6 separate regions of the Homo sapiens genome follow, and regions 1, 2, 3, 4 and 6 are each linked to region 5. Evidence: promoter capture Hi-C in 16 types of primary human blood cells and fetal thymus (Javierre and others, 2016). All regions are on one chromosome and are shown on one strand. Each heading gives the region's core, a stretch centred on a gene start or on the middle of the fragment in contact. The rest is flanking DNA. Distances are from core to core; before and after follow the strand shown. Region 1 overlaps SKAP1 (src kinase associated phosphoprotein 1). Region 2 overlaps SKAP1 (src kinase associated phosphoprotein 1). Region 3 overlaps SKAP1 (src kinase associated phosphoprotein 1). Region 4 overlaps SKAP1 (src kinase associated phosphoprotein 1). Region 5 holds the start of LINC02086 (long intergenic non-protein coding RNA 2086). Region 6 overlaps SKAP1 (src kinase associated phosphoprotein 1).

Evidence for each region. The method cuts DNA at HindIII sites, captures the fragments that hold promoters and counts their contacts. A CHiCAGO score of 5 or more calls a contact.
Region 1: a contact is called between a fragment that was not itself captured here and the fragment with the promoter of LINC02086 in region 5, in 1 of 17 cell types (M2 macrophages). The highest score is 5.6, in M2 macrophages.
Region 2: a contact is called between a fragment that was not itself captured here and the fragment with the promoter of LINC02086 in region 5, in 2 of 17 cell types (M2 macrophages and endothelial precursors). The highest score is 6.5, in M2 macrophages.
Region 3: a contact is called between a fragment that was not itself captured here and the fragment with the promoter of LINC02086 in region 5, in 8 of 17 cell types (M2 macrophages, megakaryocytes, M1 macrophages and 5 more). The highest score is 12.2, in M2 macrophages.
Region 4: a fragment that was not itself captured here is called in contact with the fragment with the promoter of LINC02086 in region 5 in 4 of 17 cell types (M2 macrophages, M1 macrophages, erythroblasts and 1 more); the score reaches 9.8 in M2 macrophages.
Region 6: a contact is called between a fragment that was not itself captured here and the fragment with the promoter of LINC02086 in region 5, in 5 of 17 cell types (M2 macrophages, M1 macrophages, erythroblasts and 2 more). The highest score is 7.0, in M2 macrophages.

What each region holds. Positions count from the first base shown.
Region 1 is chr17:48,298,918-48,301,617 of GRCh38, forward strand. All of the region lies in intron 4 of SKAP1 (src kinase associated phosphoprotein 1), which reads right to left. The region is part of intron 1 of SKAP1-AS2 (SKAP1 antisense RNA 2); the gene reads left to right. Among named protein-coding and RNA genes, the nearest start is that of SKAP1-AS2, 5.9 kb to the left of the region's middle. RefSeq lists an enhancer at 1,179-1,268. The HindIII fragment of the contact is 9,512 bases long and covers 1-2,700 here.
Region 2 is chr17:48,345,816-48,348,515 of GRCh38, forward strand. It overlaps SKAP1 (src kinase associated phosphoprotein 1), which reads right to left. Exons shown (of 13, transcript NM_003726.4): 4 at 90-191. Among named protein-coding and RNA genes, the nearest start is that of SKAP1-AS2, 53 kb to the left of the region's middle. The HindIII fragment of the contact is 3,432 bases long and covers 1-2,700 here.
Region 3 is chr17:48,259,017-48,261,716 of GRCh38, forward strand. The region is part of intron 4 of SKAP1 (src kinase associated phosphoprotein 1); the gene reads right to left. Among named protein-coding and RNA genes, the nearest start is that of SKAP1-AS2, 34 kb to the right of the region's middle. The HindIII fragment of the contact is 815 bases long and covers 932-1,746 here.
Region 4 is chr17:48,280,282-48,282,981 of GRCh38, forward strand. All of the region lies in intron 4 of SKAP1 (src kinase associated phosphoprotein 1), which reads right to left. Among named protein-coding and RNA genes, the nearest start is that of SKAP1-AS2, 13 kb to the right of the region's middle. The HindIII fragment of the contact is 3,099 bases long and covers 1-2,700 here.
Region 5 is chr17:48,641,240-48,643,939 of GRCh38, forward strand. LINC02086 (long intergenic non-protein coding RNA 2086) reads left to right here and starts at 1,388. Exons shown (of 8, transcript NR_189645.1): 1 at 1,388-2,700. All of the region lies in intron 1 of LINC03057 (long intergenic non-protein coding RNA 3057), which reads right to left. RefSeq lists enhancers at 1-985, 986-1,982. The HindIII fragment of the contact is 12,737 bases long and covers 1-2,700 here.
Region 6 is chr17:48,316,463-48,319,162 of GRCh38, forward strand. The region is part of intron 4 of SKAP1 (src kinase associated phosphoprotein 1); the gene reads right to left. Among named protein-coding and RNA genes, the nearest start is that of SKAP1-AS2, 23 kb to the left of the region's middle. The HindIII fragment of the contact is 4,284 bases long and covers 1-2,700 here.

The DNA of each region.
Region 1 (2,700 bases), core at 144-2,643, 340 kb before region 5:
TCTGATAAAAATGTTTAATATTCAGTGGTATGGCAGGCGTGGGGGAAATTTTGACCATCAGAAACTGGATTTTGTGTATGGAGAATATCAGGGACATTGCATAAGGAACATTCGTATTTATAATTTATAAAGCACCTTGGGATTCTCTAGACGAAAAGCACCATATAAATATGAGCATTTTCATTTCATGTGGGTGATCACAGAATGTTGGCATTTCAGCATAAACCATATTTCAGTAGTGAAAGGGATATAAACTCTTATGTAGATTTGGTTTTGCTGCCATTTTCTCTTCCCTGAGTTGTAACATACACAATGGAGCATGCCCTTATTGGCTGCCTCCTTTACCTTTTCTAAAGTTCCTGTCTATTTCGTTTTGTCTTTGTGGTGTCAATGTACTGTCCAGCATTTGGCTTTATACTCATAAGCTAGACTACTGAAGGAAGTAAACATTTATCTTGGATCTATCTGGTATAGTGTTTTCCATCCTTCAGTATTTCTGATGTCTAAGGGAGGAAAACCTCCAGATATCATTGAAGGGGGAAGAGGGGGAGGCTGTCACTCTGTGGCACATTAAGACACAGTATAGAACAGGAGACTACTATTATTTCAAGGTTCTTTGAAAGTTCTTTAGGATATGACAGAATATATATGTATGTGTGTGTGTGTGTGATTTGAAAATCTGGATCATACAATCACATTTTAGGGGATCAATCTGACAAACATTTATTGAATGTCTAATATGTGCTGACAGCCCACAATCCTTTGGAGATGCCAGTGTATGTAATACAATGCAGGTAAATGGTGGTAGGCAACAGCTATGATAACTGATCAAGTAAAATGCAAGACAGGAAGGGGTTGAGTCCAACCTGGGGCAACTAGGAAGCCAGCTAGAGAAGAGGGAGTTTGAGCATGGCCTGGAAGGATGAGTGGGTGGATGGGAGGATGGGAAAGGCACTCCAGGTGGAAGGCACAGGGCTGGGTTTGCGGAATGATGATGAATAATCCTGTGAGGCTGGGGTTTGGGGCATGAGTTTCACATGTAGGAGGTAAGATGAAAGGTAGGCTCAGTATTTCAGGTCATGGTTTCAAATCCTCTTCAAAATAAGTGTAGGTCATGAAGCTGCAGTGTTATGAGAAAACTGTTTTTAACTATGAGTGTTCCTAGCTTATTATTTCCCCTGTGTGCTCAAGAGTTTCTGGCTTCACTAGTTCAGGTCCTTCCCAGGCTCACCATCATCCAAGGAGGGCTCTGCCATTCTCAGTCAAGTGTTTTGGCCTTGTGATGCAGCATGGGGAGAATGTGGAGAATAAGATACTTAGGTTGACAGTAGAAGACAGGGAGCAAAGAAGCAGTCTCCACCCCATATCTTCAAGGATTAAGAGAGACAGGGCAGAATGGCATGGGACTGTGAGAGAGTTCTGGGACAGGAGAGTGAGAGGCTCCAGGGAGTTCTGGGGATTTTGAAAAAGGAGGAGAAGTTGCCTTGTAAAATGGGCTACAGGTATTTTTGAGGACAGAAATTCCTACTTTTGTTGTGCTTCTGTGAATGTGATACTTCTTCAGGACTGGGTCCTGGTGTCAAAGGGATAGACAGCTCAGTGTGAGATTGCATGTGATTTTCCATGGTCTGGAGGCTATATTATATTTATTAACCACATATTATACCAAGAGAGAGTGATGAGGGGTGAGCCTAAAAATGAAGTGGATCAGAATCTTTTAGCATTTTGCTCCTCCATGAATTCTCTATTTAATGATTAATGTTTGTTGAATAGATTGAGATGGTTCTCACTGTATATATTAATTACTGCTTAACAATAATGTGTTTTCTCTTAATCCTGTCACATCTCTTTAATGGCTGCCTTAAACTTCCACTTTCCAGTCTCCCTAAGCTCTAGGCCAGTCCCTGCTCCATGGCTTTTTACTCTTAGTAAATGGCTTTGCCTTCTCCTCCCTTCAAGTAAAAATATCTCCGTATCTTCATTCTCTTCTATCCTTTAACTCCTTTCTCTAAGGAATGAGTCCCCTGCCTGTTAGCCAGGACTGATTCTTGTATAGTATTGACTGACCCATTTCTACCTTTCCAGGACCTGATTCTACCCATTATCTTCTCTTTTAGACTGGTTCTTTCTCATATGCTGGAAAATCAGCTCAGATCTCCCCTCTCCTAAAACTAAAACAAAATAACCAAAAAGCTCCTCTCTCCTCCTACCATTTATCCCTTTCATTCTTTTCACCAAACAACTTTTTTTAGGTAACATATACCCACAGCCTCTAGTTTCTGAGTACTCACTCACTCTAAGATCACTAATAACTAGGCTTGTTTTTAGTAGACTACTGAAACTGCTCCTTGGAAGATGAGCAAAGATCTTCTTGTTTTGTTTCCTCTCTATTCCCACCAACCCTTCCCATCAGCCCAATATCCAACAAATTATAAATTTTCAGGGAGATTCCCAATTACCTATCTTTATATTCCTTCAGCACCTAGCATTATGCATTGCACATGGTAGAGACTCCATGAGTATTTGAATTGAATCTAGATTTCTTTCTTTCTTTCTTTTTTGAGATGGAGTCTCGCTCTGTCACCCAGGCTGGAGTGCAGTGGCGTGATCTCGGCTCACTGCAACCTCCGTCTCCTGGGTTCAAGAATTGCTTGAACCCAGCAATTCTTCTACTTCAGCCTCCCAAGTAGCTGGGATTAC
Region 2 (2,700 bases), core at 189-2,688, 300 kb before region 5:
TAGATACAAAAATGACAAAAGGCAAAGATGTCAGGCCAGAAGATAATGAAGTATGGTAGTCACCCAAAATCCAGAAGGATAACACTCACCCTCATCCTGATAATCTGACAAAAAGGGTGCATCGGATGTGAGGGACAGGCCAAGAGTCCCGCTGTGATTATCATCAGAGCTGTCCTGTCCAATGTCTCCCCCTGAGGGACAAAAAAGACAGAAAATAAGGTTAATCTTTGGGCATCCTTATAAAAGGATACATCCTTATAAAAGGATCTATGTATGATCTCTTCCAGTATTCGAAAAAAAAGTGTATCTTTTACTGGATGATGAACATGGCCACTATCCATTAACATATAGGAAACAGTTAAATAGGTTCAAGAACTGACTTACCTGGATGAAAAATTTTCCACTCAAGTAACTCTCTCACTAAAACTTAGGAACTGTTAGCTTATAGTGGGAATACCTCTTGCCACCAGAAAGAAATTTCTCTATCATACTTAAAATAAAAACATAGCTATATAAATTTATATTCAGCCAGGCATGGTGGGTCACGCCTGTAATCCTAGCACTTTGGGAGGCCCAGGCAGGCGGATCACCTGAGGGCAGGAGTTCAAGATCAGCCTGGCCAATATGGTGAAACCCTCTCTCCACTAAAAATACAAAAATTAGCAGGGTGTGGTGGTGGGCGCCTGTAATCCCAGCTACTTGGGAGGCTAGGGCAGGAGAATCGCTTGAACCCGGGGGGTAGAGGTTGCAGTGAGCCAAGATTGCACCATTGCACTCCGGCCTGGGTGACAACAGCGAGACTCCATCTAAAAAAAAAAAGAATTAAATTTATATTCATATATACTATGTCTCCAATAATTACAACCTTTACCCTGCATGCCTCTATTTCAAATGAAATAGGACTGACCCAAAGGTTTAACCTTCTATACATAATATAATATAGCAAGGTCAATAGTCTTTCTCTGAAAAGTAAGAGAAGTATTATAAAAATAGAGAAAACCTAGACTTTGCTGGACTGTATTCCTATTTGTTCTGCAACGTTAACAAAGTTCTTTCTTTGTAATTCTAGTTTACAGCCTAGGCAACCGACCTCTTAGGAATTCTAAAAGCCCTAAGAAGATAATATTTGTCCTGTAAAATGGCTTTGATAAAAGGTAATGTATATACAATACTGAATTATGCAATTAATGCTAATCTCTTTTGTGTGTTTTCAATATACATTGGATTGTATTCTGTAGAAGTGACTGATGTTATTATGATACTTTAAAAGGTTCAGACAGAAGATGTTAGCTCATTCAGAAACCGGAAGAAAAGGCTCTGTATTGCAAATGGCTTTCCTTAAAATCCCCCAAATAGAGGTACAGTCTGCTAATAAAAGGACACTGACAGCTGCTTATTTCATTTCACAAACATGAAAATAGGATTTTCAACTGAATTTAATATTATCTCAAATACTAATTTCCAAAGGAAATCACCAATGCTAATCTCAGTAAATACTGTAGAGTTTTGGCCTTGGATTTCAACTAGGGAGCTGTGAAACCAAACAACCTACATAGAATCTGTATTGCCTCACTTTAAAGGTTTATTTCCTACAATTAAACTAGAAAGCCAGGGAGGTTATAAAATGATAAAAAGAGAATGGCTGTAGCTTTCTCTTTCCATAAATTAGATGATCATATCTAGACTCTTCTTCAAATGCTGTATGGTAGGTAGATGTCCATAACTGAGTTGAACACCTACAAATATAGGACTTTAGAAATAAACTATAAAGTTTATTATGAAAAAGAGAAATAAAAATTGTAGAAAACTCACACAATAGTCATTGGCCAAAGCCAGAAGAAATACTCTCTTTTATTAGTTTACTTATCAGTATACAAAGTTTATAGCTATGCTTAAAGCATCACTGTGTAATTTCCATAGTAACCAGAAAAATTCTCAAATACTGGACTGAGGATTAAAATGCTCAAATTTTACATCACTGGAAGTCCACTAAAATTATATTATCAACACAATCTAAATGGACTGCCTGGCTAGTAACCTGAAAGTGAGCTGCAAGGTTAAATGGAATTTTTATTTTAAGCCAAATAAAAATCCTTAAAAATAAAAAAAGTACTGGAATTGCCAAGCAAAATTTAACTTTTGTAGGATATACTGAACATTATGTATAAACTATTATTCTGGACTTAAAGTTCTCTGCTTGCTTCAAAAATGTGGCAAATCCACCATTAAAGAAAAAGAACCTAGCCAGGCACAGTGGCTCACACCTATAATCCCAGCACTTTGGGAGGCCAAGGCAGGTGGATGGCTTGAGCCTAGGAGTTCAAGACCAGCCTGGGCAACATGACAATACCCCATCTCTACAAAAAGTAGAAAAATTAGCCAGGCATGGTGGCTTGTGCCTGTGGTCCTAGCTACTTGAGAGGCTGAGACATGGGGGGATCGTTTGAGCCAAGGAGGTAAAAGCTGCAGTGAGCCATGACTGTGCCACTGCACTCCAACCTAGACAACAGAGTGAGCCCTGCCTCAAAAAAAAAAAAAAAGAAAAGAAAGAAAAGAAGAAAGAAAAAAAGTACATGCTCACATTCTAAGTGTTTTAAAAAACATGCAGATCAGGAAGGGCTTTTTTTTTTAGTGAACTTTTTATTTTGGAATAATTTTAGATTTATGTAAGTGTTGCAAAGATAGTACAGAGTTCCTACA
Region 3 (2,700 bases), core at 89-2,588, 380 kb before region 5:
TATTGTATGAAAATTGAGAAAAATGAGGTAGATGATGTTTGGGTAACAATTAAAATTTTAGGCAGATGCTTGAATGTCCGTAATTTTTTAAAATGGGGGACTCTACAGTACATGCTGCAAAAATGACTCAAGCTAGGATTTTCAGAATAACCTATATTTTAAAAGTGCAGAACAATGTCAAATCTTTAAGCTTTCAAGCAGAGGATTCGCAATAAAATGAAATCATTAGGCAAAGAGTGGTCACTGTTACGATAAGAAGAAAAAATAATTCAAAATTCTCATATCTATTATTATATTAGAATAGTTCACTTTCTTCTCTACATAATAACATTGGGTATTAAAGAGCCATTTATGCATACCTTATTATTATTTATGAAATTACAAATACACACAGTGTCTGATAACTCATCTCTCTGTATTAAATAGGAACATACATTGTTTTTTAAAATGTCTGCCTTTTACAATGTGTTAGGTAACAGCTTTCCATAGCGTAATCATGAATGCATTATATAATGTGCTTTATAAGAAATTATTAAGGATTATGACTATAGCAATGTAATTCGAATATAAATATGAATAAAGCATTTAGGAATGATATTTTCACTTAGACTGTTACCTACATAATTTGCAGCAATACAATTATCATAGAAGAAGACATACATTTACAGAAAAAGCTGTTGCTACGAATGTTAGTAAAAATCCTATAACGTAGGTGTTTTTCTAGCAACTTCACAAAACCCATGCCTTTAAAAACATGAGGAGAATCCACAATGCCACCTACAGTTTTCTTGACAGTAATCTTGCCTTGGCAGGAAAAAAGGTCAGCTTTATTTGAAAAGCCAGGTGCATGTAAATTTCCAAACTGCAAGTAGGTGGCAGTGGAGACATTTCTGGATGGCCCTTCTCAGTTGGAAATGTAAAAGGAGGAGGAAGCTTCCTTAAAAACAAGTTAAAAACATACTAAAATAAATAATTTCCTGAAATGTAACCTTCCAGATCACCATTAAGAGCTAATAAATTATTTGTCTTTAGGGACCAAAATCCCACCAATCTCTTAATGAAGACAACCATAGCATGAAAAGTGAGCAGCATGGATGACAAAATTAGAAAAAAATGAAAAGAGAGAAGTGTTGGACAATTGTTTCCCACAAATCTAAAAGAAATAATTAGGAATTTGATGTGGACAAGAAACTCCGAGGCTAGCAGCATGAAATACATAAATTTAAAACTAGTAACTTAGCATTTTAAGAAGCCATTAAGAAATCTCCTGTTTGAATGTGAATTTAAGAGTAAGGGAGATGAGTTTATTAGGATCTGGTCTTTAATGAAGAATATCAATTGAGTCCATCAAAAAATTGTGTACAAGAGGCTATTAAACAATGTAGACATATTTAAAGTGTGCTCAACTATAAACAAACACTAGAAACATTAGAATAAAACCACCTGAATTGTCTTTCAAGGTTAATGAGTTGGCATTTAGATTCATTCCATTCTCAAGTTTACTTGCAAAGATAAGAAGGGTCATTAAGTTGTATTATCGGTTCAATTTAATTGATTTGACTCGTGGACATCATATTAGAAACTGGAAAATGCCCAAGAATAAACACTGGAGGGGTGTGTGTGTGTATCAATATACATGGAAAGAAACAGGTAAATGTGTTGTAAGATGGAAAAAAAGGAAGTTAATGACATTATTTATATCGGAATCACCACGTGAAAAGAAATCAAGGTAAACGTCCAGATCAAAGCTTTTTCACACCATGACTATCTCGAATCAGCTTTTCTCCTTTCCTTAATTGGTTAACCACACACACACAGTTTAACAACAAAGGCAACCAAGTGGTCAAGGGATGCAAGAAACCTGGTGAAAACAAATGCCACGTTCTTAGTACTACTGTTCCCCTGCCTGGAACATTCTTCTTCTGTTCATCTTTTAAGATTCACCTCAAAATCCAGATACTCTAAAATGCTGTTCGGAATCCCTGATGTGAATTTAATCACTCCCTCTCCTGCAGTATTTAAAAAAACTTCTATTATAGCAATTATCACATTTTAGAATTAGAATTATTATAGTTGTGTTTGGATCTGAACGACCCCTAAGTCTGCAAGTCCTAGGAGGGCAGGGGTCAGTCCTTGACAATTTTTGGAAAATTTCTGATGCCATGCTCTGCAAGGATGTTTATCTGAATTAGTTGAAAGGATGACTTAAAACCATCTCTCAAAATACGCCATGCTTTAATGCTGTGGACAGTAAAGAATCTATGCTTTGGTGAACAACAGAAGAGTGACATGCCTGTGACTCACTCTGAATAGAGCCTTATAAAGCCTTAAAAAGAAATGTGGCACCAACCTTTACCCTCTCCTTATATACGCAGGAATCCTTGGGAGCTACAGGGTTAGTTTGGTTGCTAGGAGTAAGGCCTGAGAATTATTAGTGAACTGGCATCCTGGAAGCAGTAGGGGGCGTTTTACGCTGAGGATGCTATTGGAGGATGTACTCACAGACTGTGTGATGGGCGGTCACCTAGTCATTGTCCTGGTGACCTTTTAAATGTAAGCAGCAGGAAGCATAACTCAGGCCTGGTAGCAGTGATCAGAGTCATGGGGGAACAAACTGTAAAAATTCCAAAGCAAGGGCCATACTGAACCCAGAATTCTCAAATTCAGGAAGAAACTTCCTAGGCTAATTAATAGAGTTTG
Region 4 (2,700 bases), core at 95-2,594, 360 kb before region 5:
CAACATGGTGAAACGCCGTCTCTACTAAAAATACAAAAATCAGCTGGCTGTGGTGGTGGGCGCCTGTAATTCCAGCTACTTGGGAGGCTGAGGCAGGAGAATCACTTGAACCTGGGAGGCAGAGGTTGCAGTGAGCCGAGATCTGCACTCCAGCCTGGATGACAGGCTGCACTCCAGCCTGGGTGACAGAGTGAGACTCTGTCTCAAAAACAAACAAAAAACAACAACAAAAAATGACACACAAAAAACACAATTCTTTTTAAATGTACAGTTTAATGAATTTTGACAAATATATACATATATATATAGTAGTTGTATAACCACTACCAAATCAAGATATAGAATATTTCCATCACTCTGAAAAGCTCCTTTTTGCCCCTTTGTAGTCAATCCACTCTTTCTATCACTGGCCTTGCCAATCATTGATCTATTTTTGTGTCTATAGCTTTGACTTTTTAGGGATGTCAAATACATGAAATCATATAGTATCTAATATTTTATGTCTGGCTTTCTTTAATTAGCATAAAACCTTTAAGATTCATCCATGTAGTTGTGTGTATCAGTAGTTTATCCCTTTTTATTGCTGAATAGAAACACAATTTGTTTATCTACTCACCAGTTGATGGATACTTGGGTTCTTTTCAGTTTCAGTGAATAAAGCTGTTATAAACACTCAAGGCAGAACCTGTACTCAGACTTAGGCAGTCTAAACCCAGAGCTCAGGTTTTTTTACTTTTTTATTTTTATTTATTTTTTATTTTTTGAGATGGAGTCTTGTTCTGTTGCCAGGCTGGAGTGCAGTGGCGTGATCTTGGCTCACTGCAATCTCTGCCTCCTGAGTTCAAGCGATACCCCTGCCTCAGCCTCCCAAGTAGCTGGGATTACAGGCACATGCCACCATGCCCGGCTAATTTTTTGTATTTTAGTAGAGATGGGTTTTCACCATGTTGGCCAGGATGGTCTTGATCTCCTGACCTCGTGATCCACCCACCTCGGCCTCTCAAAGTGCTAGAATTACAGGCGTGAGTCACTGCACCTGGCCCAGAGCTCAAGTTTTAAAGCACTTCAGTCTACTGGTGCCCAATAAGAAACCATGAAGCTCTTTGTCATTGTCATGGCACTCCCTGATGGGGTTCTTCTCACTGCTCCTAGTGCCTGTGATGCTCTCCAAGTGGAGACTGCCTGATCGCACATCAAATGCTGCTCATTTAGGCTGGCAGGCAGAGGCAGCGTGCTTTCAAATTGTGCTTTAAAGAAAAACCTTTATATTTCCAAACAAATTAAGGGAATTTACTTGTAAGGAAAATCTAATTTAGGTATCTTTAAAAGGAGAGGTTTAGAAAATAAGAAATTAACACTGTGGCCACCATCTAGTGATCCATGGCTTAAGTTTTAACATGGCACTGAAAACTTCTCTTACCCATAAGTGTTGATCTAGTATAATTTATTATCTTTGGAACAGTATAAGTTTATTATAAAATCAATGAGAAAATATATGCCATTAGGCATGCCCTCATACTCATATTGTTTAGAAAAACAATAAAACAAAAACAGACAAAAAATAAATATTAATATTTACTAGTTTATGGACAGGCAAGACAACTTTTTAAAAATCCTAGTTTATCTAATGCATATATTTTTAGTACTGCAGCAATAAGGAAAACCTGAAGAACAACAGCTAAGTGTAACTAAGAGTACATATTCTACAGTTAAAAAAATCACACAAGCATTTACTTGATTCTTCATGCACCGATAAGAATGGTAAAGAAAACAGAAATCCCAAAATAATATAAGTTTGTCTCAGCTAACAATATCATTTGGAAAATTCTTATGTTTACCCAAAGTTGAACTGCACTTAATACTTTCTTTTATGCCTTTCTGTTTCATTTTATTAGATTAAGAAATTATAAAAAGTTTAAACATGTACAAATGTATAGAAAATAATGTAATGAACCTCCTGTAGCTATCATCCAGCTTCAACAATTATCAACTCATGGCCAATTCTGTTTCCTCTATTTTCCTCCATTCATTCCTCACCTCTACCCAAACTAATGCCTTATTTTTTTTAACTTTGTACTTTGAAATAATTTTAAGTTTTCAGAAAAGTTGCAAAAATAGTACAGAGTTCTCATCTATCCTTCACCCTGTTCCCTCAAAGCTAACATATTGCATAACCACAGTATAACTATCAAAACTAAGAAACTGCTTTTGGCTGGGCAAGGTGACTCATGCCTGTAATCTCAGCACTTTGGGAGGCCAAGGCAGGAGGATTGCTTGAGCCCAAGAGTTCAAGACCAGCCTGGGCAACATAGTGGGACCTCAGCTCTACGAAAAAGTAAAAAGTCAGCCAAGCATTGTGGTGTACGCCTGTAGTCTCAGCTACTTAGTAGGCTGAGGTGAGAGGATTGCTTGAGCCTAGGAGGTCAAGGTTGCAGTGAGCCAAGGTCGTCTCGCTGCACTGCTGCTGCCTCAGTGACAGAGCAAGATCTGGTCTCAAAAAAAAAAGAAAGAAAAGAAAAAAAGAAACTGCCCTTTTTTTTTGGTAAGGAAAATTGCACATTTTTGTGCTCCTCTGATAAATGCAAACCCACCCATCTGAGGGAACAATAACTACAAAATGCCATCCACTCTTAGCAATTATGTAATTCCATGTAATTATTTTCTCAGTTTGGCTAAAAAAAGCAAGTACTTTGAGATCTC
Region 5 (2,700 bases), core at 138-2,637:
CAAGGTCTCTGTGTCTCTAATTAAATTAATATGGAGCTTTTATCCACTGGGGCCTGGACCTTCCGCCATTTGTCACCTTGTCCAAAGCTATCTCATACCGAAAGAGAATTGAACGTTTCAGGAAACACTTCCCCTTTGCAAATGCCCTTCTCTTGGGGAATGGGTATAGTGTCCAAATCTCCAGCTCCCACCATTTCTAGCCAGCCCTGAGGAATTGTCTGAGACCCGGGAGCCCAGAGATCATCAGCGGGGGCCAACAGCCATGACCTTTGAGTTTTCTTGGCCGCTGGGCCACAGAAAGGGTGCAAGAGGCAGCTGGACAGGTAGACAGAAGTAGGCACAAAGAAAGGGGCCCTGGACGGTTGCCAGAGAAAAGACGGAGAATGACAAAGAGAGAAGTGAAATAGCTGGACTGGAGGCGGGAACTGGAGCGCAGCAGGCAGGTGGAGTGGCCAAAACCCGCGTGCTAAGAAGAGCCCACAGGGGCGGCAGGGGCGGCAGGGGCGGCAGAGGCGGCCAGGCGCGTCTCCGTTCCCCATCTTTACGGGGAGGTTAATGACCTCCTCAGCGCCCCCTCGTCCCAAACCACCCAATTACAACTCCTCAGGCTCCTTAATGATCTGATTAATTGGTTGGTTAGGGCGGATGGAGGTGCTTCTCTGCCGGGGACCTGGCGGGGTTTCGCTAGATCATTTGTTAATTGTGGGAAGGAAGGACGCATCCGGGGAGAGGAGATCCAGGGCTGGAAAAGTGGGTGAGCGGCGCTGGCGCAGGCGGCCAGGAGAGAGCAGATGAACCGTTCGTTAGGAGCAGCGAGGTAGTCGTGAGCGCTGAGATCCAGAGACTAGGACCCACTCCCTCTCTGAGCAGCAAATTGGGAAGAAGATGCTCACTCGGTAAGGGCGAGGGAGCCCGGCATGGCGCCCCACCACGGGCTCGGTCTATCTGCGCGCCAAGATCCCGCTTGGGGCGAGGCGTTGGGTCAGCGTTTAGAGCCACTCCCTGCGCTGGTGGCTGGACATAGCCTCCCTATCCCACCTCATCTTCCCCCATCCCCGACAGAGGAGGTTGTGAATCTACAGGCCCTTGACGTTGAGGCGTCGGAGGGCGCACCTTTGTAATTGCGGCCTCCCTTCGCCCCTTAAGTGCCGCTTCTGGGCGCCTAGGCTGGATATGAAAGCCCCGTTCCTAATCCTCTGCTCTGGTCCCCTCCTCTGGACTGCTGGGACTCTAAGCTAGGCCCTCCCCAGGTTCCATCACTGCGGCGCCAACCCGCGGCTGGGCTGTCCGCAAGAGGGAGTTGAAGGCGCGCGGAATCCCGAGGTGCAGCTGACCCTCCTCTCAACGCCGACTCTGCCGCTCCCGCCCGGCCACCTCCCTGTCGGGCAGACTTCCTGTTCTCCTGCTCACAGCAGGGAGGCAGTCGCCGAGCCGGTCAGCAGCGTGCACGGAGATCTTCACTCTGCGCCCAGCCCCGGGACACAGGTGCAGATCTCCAGCGGAGCACTGCGGAGTGCGCGCCGTCGAGCACTAGGGAATCCTAGACGGAGGACTTGGTCCATTCCACGCAGTCCCAGGCAGGTCCGCAGCGGAGGGACGCAGCGGTCTCCAACTCCTGGTCACGACTTCGGCGACCCTCCACCCCCTGAGAGACCTGGTCCCACGGAGCTGTCCCCCCAGGAGCCGCAGCGGGAATAGCAAAGCAAAGGGGACCACTCAGCCCCCAGGAGGAGCCCTGAAGCAAAAAGGTTGCTGCGGGGAGCCACGTTCCCTCTGGTTCACCTCGAAGCCCAGGAGCTCCGGTCCCTGGACCAAGGAGTGAACAGACCTGAGGAAGAGGTAAGAGGAGGTTTAACGAGTAAAAATTTGGACTCTCTCCTCTTATACTGCTTTAAAGCATGAGGAATTTGGGCCCTGACTTCTCTCTCCTTGAAGAAGTTTCTCGCGTTCTGGCCAGTCCTTGCGTGTCTGCACCCAGGGCCGGCAACAATTTAAGGAGGAACTTTACTGGGTGGTCGAGGCTTGAGAGTTCATAGTTACCTTTTAAAAAAATCATTACTATTACTTAATATCTAGGTTATTTTGGACTGAGCCCCCATCTTCGCTCCAGCCCAAATTCGGCCTTTAACAGTACTAGGGAGTGCTTCAAAAGAGGAGGGTCGTGGAGGAAGCGACTCAGACGGCCCCAAGAGGAGAGATGGGAAGGAGTGAGGGCTTTGGCCTTAATGATCTCTGCAAGTTAAAGGCCATTATTCCTATAACTACAGCTGGGGAAAGGGCAGAGGAGGTAAGGACGGAAAGTGGGCTGAGGGTGGCCACTTTGGCATCTTCTTGAGAAAGGAGACATTTGAATTCCCGGCCCAACTAAAAGCCCTGAGATGCTTGCCCTTTGCTTTACAGACAGTGATGGCAAAGAAATACTGCCACCAGGGTGTTTTTAAAGGTGAAGGTTGACCTGATAAGCACTGAGATCAGACAAAGGAAAAAAAAAGTAAAGCATTTGGTCTTTCAGTTTTCTGGCTAAATCTGGCATCATTTTCCAGACACAAACTTCTCTGATTAATCCAAATAGCTCTCAACCTGAAGTTCAAGGAATTTGAAATCCTCTGAAATTGTGGGATTTCACAGTTCTAAAAGGAAGTCAGCTGTCACTTTCTGAGAAGCCCTGGGAGGGGAAGGAAGCAAGAGGAGGTATATGAG
Region 6 (2,700 bases), core at 66-2,565, 320 kb before region 5:
TGTTCTCAAAGAGATCTACTGTCACCCTTTTTAGTCATTCTCTCTCTGCCTTTCAGTCTTTTTTGTTGTGTTTAGTTTCAGACCATTTACCATGGCTTGACATTATATAACATATCGGCCCCAGTAAAATATGAGCTCTATGTGGCTAAGGGTTTTGTCAACTTCGTCTCTGTGTCCCCAGTACTAGTCTAAGGTCGTGCACATAGTAGGTCCTCAATGATAAATGAATAGATGAAGAATAGTCAAAGCAATTGGCAGACATTCCACCTAATGTTCATTTGAATATGAACCTCAAAAGAATGTTCACATGACAGAGACCACCACGCTAAGATGAGCTATTGATCAGACTGCTAAAAATCAGCTCTCTCTTTCCCCAACTTGCATAACACTGAAACCATATCTGCCTTATGGTATCTATCACTATTTCTTTTATACCATTCTTATTTCATACAGATCTTATCTCCCCTAGTAGCCTTTGTGGAAAAAAATCCCAATCTGATCCTTCATCTTCTCCCTTATCACATCCAACATGTGGCAGGTATCCAGCCCCTGGATCATGGGCAGGGCTGACAGTCACATCCTGGCCATGACAATCTGAGGCCCAGATGCTCATGCAGGAGCGAAAAGTGCCAGCCTCTCCGAGCCATACTGAATGATGATCCTTGACTCTATGCTCAGACGGATGTTCATGGGCATTCATCTGTTGACAAGGCTGAATGAAGAGAAGGGACTCCCAATGGAAATAAACCTATGAAAAATCACCAATCCCTTGTATGATAATTGAGGAAAAAAAGTATCTCAATGTTGATATAAAAAAGACGAACATAAAATAAAGACTAAACTTAAATGATGATCAGTTGACCTTCATTTCTTTTTTAGGGGTCAATTCCCAAACAGAAGTAGAACTATCACAAACATGGCATTAAACGTTTTAAAAATTGAATTAAATTAAGAAATCAAGTTATGTAATAGGAACAATTTTAAAGATGAAGAAATGAAAGTGCTCAAAGGTTTGGACTAGCAAAGCATAATTCTATACTTAGACCAGTAAGCTGGTCATATAAAATGTTCATAAAAATTTCCTTTTGAAATAAATATACTTGGATATGAATAATTTTCATGTACCAAAAGTTAAATAAAACTTGAAAACAAATGATAATAGGCAAGTTGCTTAACATTTCTACATCTTAGTATCTTTATCTGTAAACAAAAGGAACTGAAGTAACTTCAGGTCACTTCGAGGTCTGAAATAATTCAAATAAGAATCTAGTTGAGTTTTTCAGGATGGATATGTGTTTTATGCTTATCAATGGCTGAAACTAGAACAAATATTAAACTCTCATGAGACATTAAGTTAGAAGGCATCATACAAAAATCAGCAAAAACAGAGAAGCAATCAAAGGGTAGAGGTAGAAACTGAAGTACTTCAAGAATAAAATAAAATGGAGTTAAATCAAGAAAAAAATGCAATCAACAGGTATGAGAGAAAAATAATGCAAAACAGAAGTATCAATAAAATGAAAAGATTTAGAAAGTGTAATACTGTAAAAAGACTTAATGACACCAGAAAAGCGCAAATAAACTTTCATTATGACACATGAACAATACCACTGATTTTTAGATTTCATGTAAAGCACCATAATTCATAAGCCCATAAGCCCCTAGGAAGACATTCATATTTCTACATTCTTTTGCAAGAATTGCCATGTTGAAACAGACCACTGGTCCATCCCTTTTGCCATGCTGCCCTGACAGCAAACAGATGTTTCAGAGAAAAGCTCTACTCTCACCAACCCAAATTCAATAATACACCTAATGGTGCAATACTATATCAAGAACATCATTTCTTTTTGACCTCAGAGGGCAATTATCTTATACCCAAAGCAGGAGGCTGGCTCACTTTGATTTCACGCTGGGTGGCCCACTTAAGAGGTCCCACTTATAATTACATCAAGACTGATATTTTCATTCACTTGGCTTTTCTGACACACTAAGCTACTTACACAATTTGCTGTCATCACCGTCACAATTAGGCTCTCATGTGTTTGGAATAATGTAGGGATAATACAAATGGTTGTATTTGTATTTGTAACTGTCCTTTTAAAAATCTTTGCTTTCTGTGACTGGGCATGGTGGCTCACATCTGTAATTCCAGCACTTTGGGAGGCCACGGCAGGAAGACTGCTTGAGGCCAGGAGTTCAAGACCAGCCTGGGCAACATAGTGAGACTTCATTTCTACAAAAAAAATTAAAAATTAGCCAGGCATGGCATGTGCCTATAGTCCCAGCTAGTCTGGAGGCTGAGGTGGGAGGATCGCTTGGAGCATGGGAGGTTGAGGCTGCAGTGAGTCATGATTGCACCACTGTTTAGCCTGGGCAAGACAGAGCAAGACCTTGCTTCAGGGAAAAACAATATTTGCTTTCTTAAAAATTAATATTTCTATTATTAGCTTCAGTTTATTCAAAGGCTCGAGAATTCCCAACTTAATGTAAATAACCTTCTTGAAGTGGAAACAAAAAGGAGAAATGAACCTTTAAAGAAGTACACATAACAGTAAGAATAACTTTTGAATACATGAGGTTTTGGGCTTTATGAGGATGGTTTTCTGAGAGAGTGAACAAAACAGAAGAAATAGACTGGAATGGCAAAAGGAATTGATCAGGAGTATGAAACTGGAGCTGGATCTCAGTTGTTTCTAG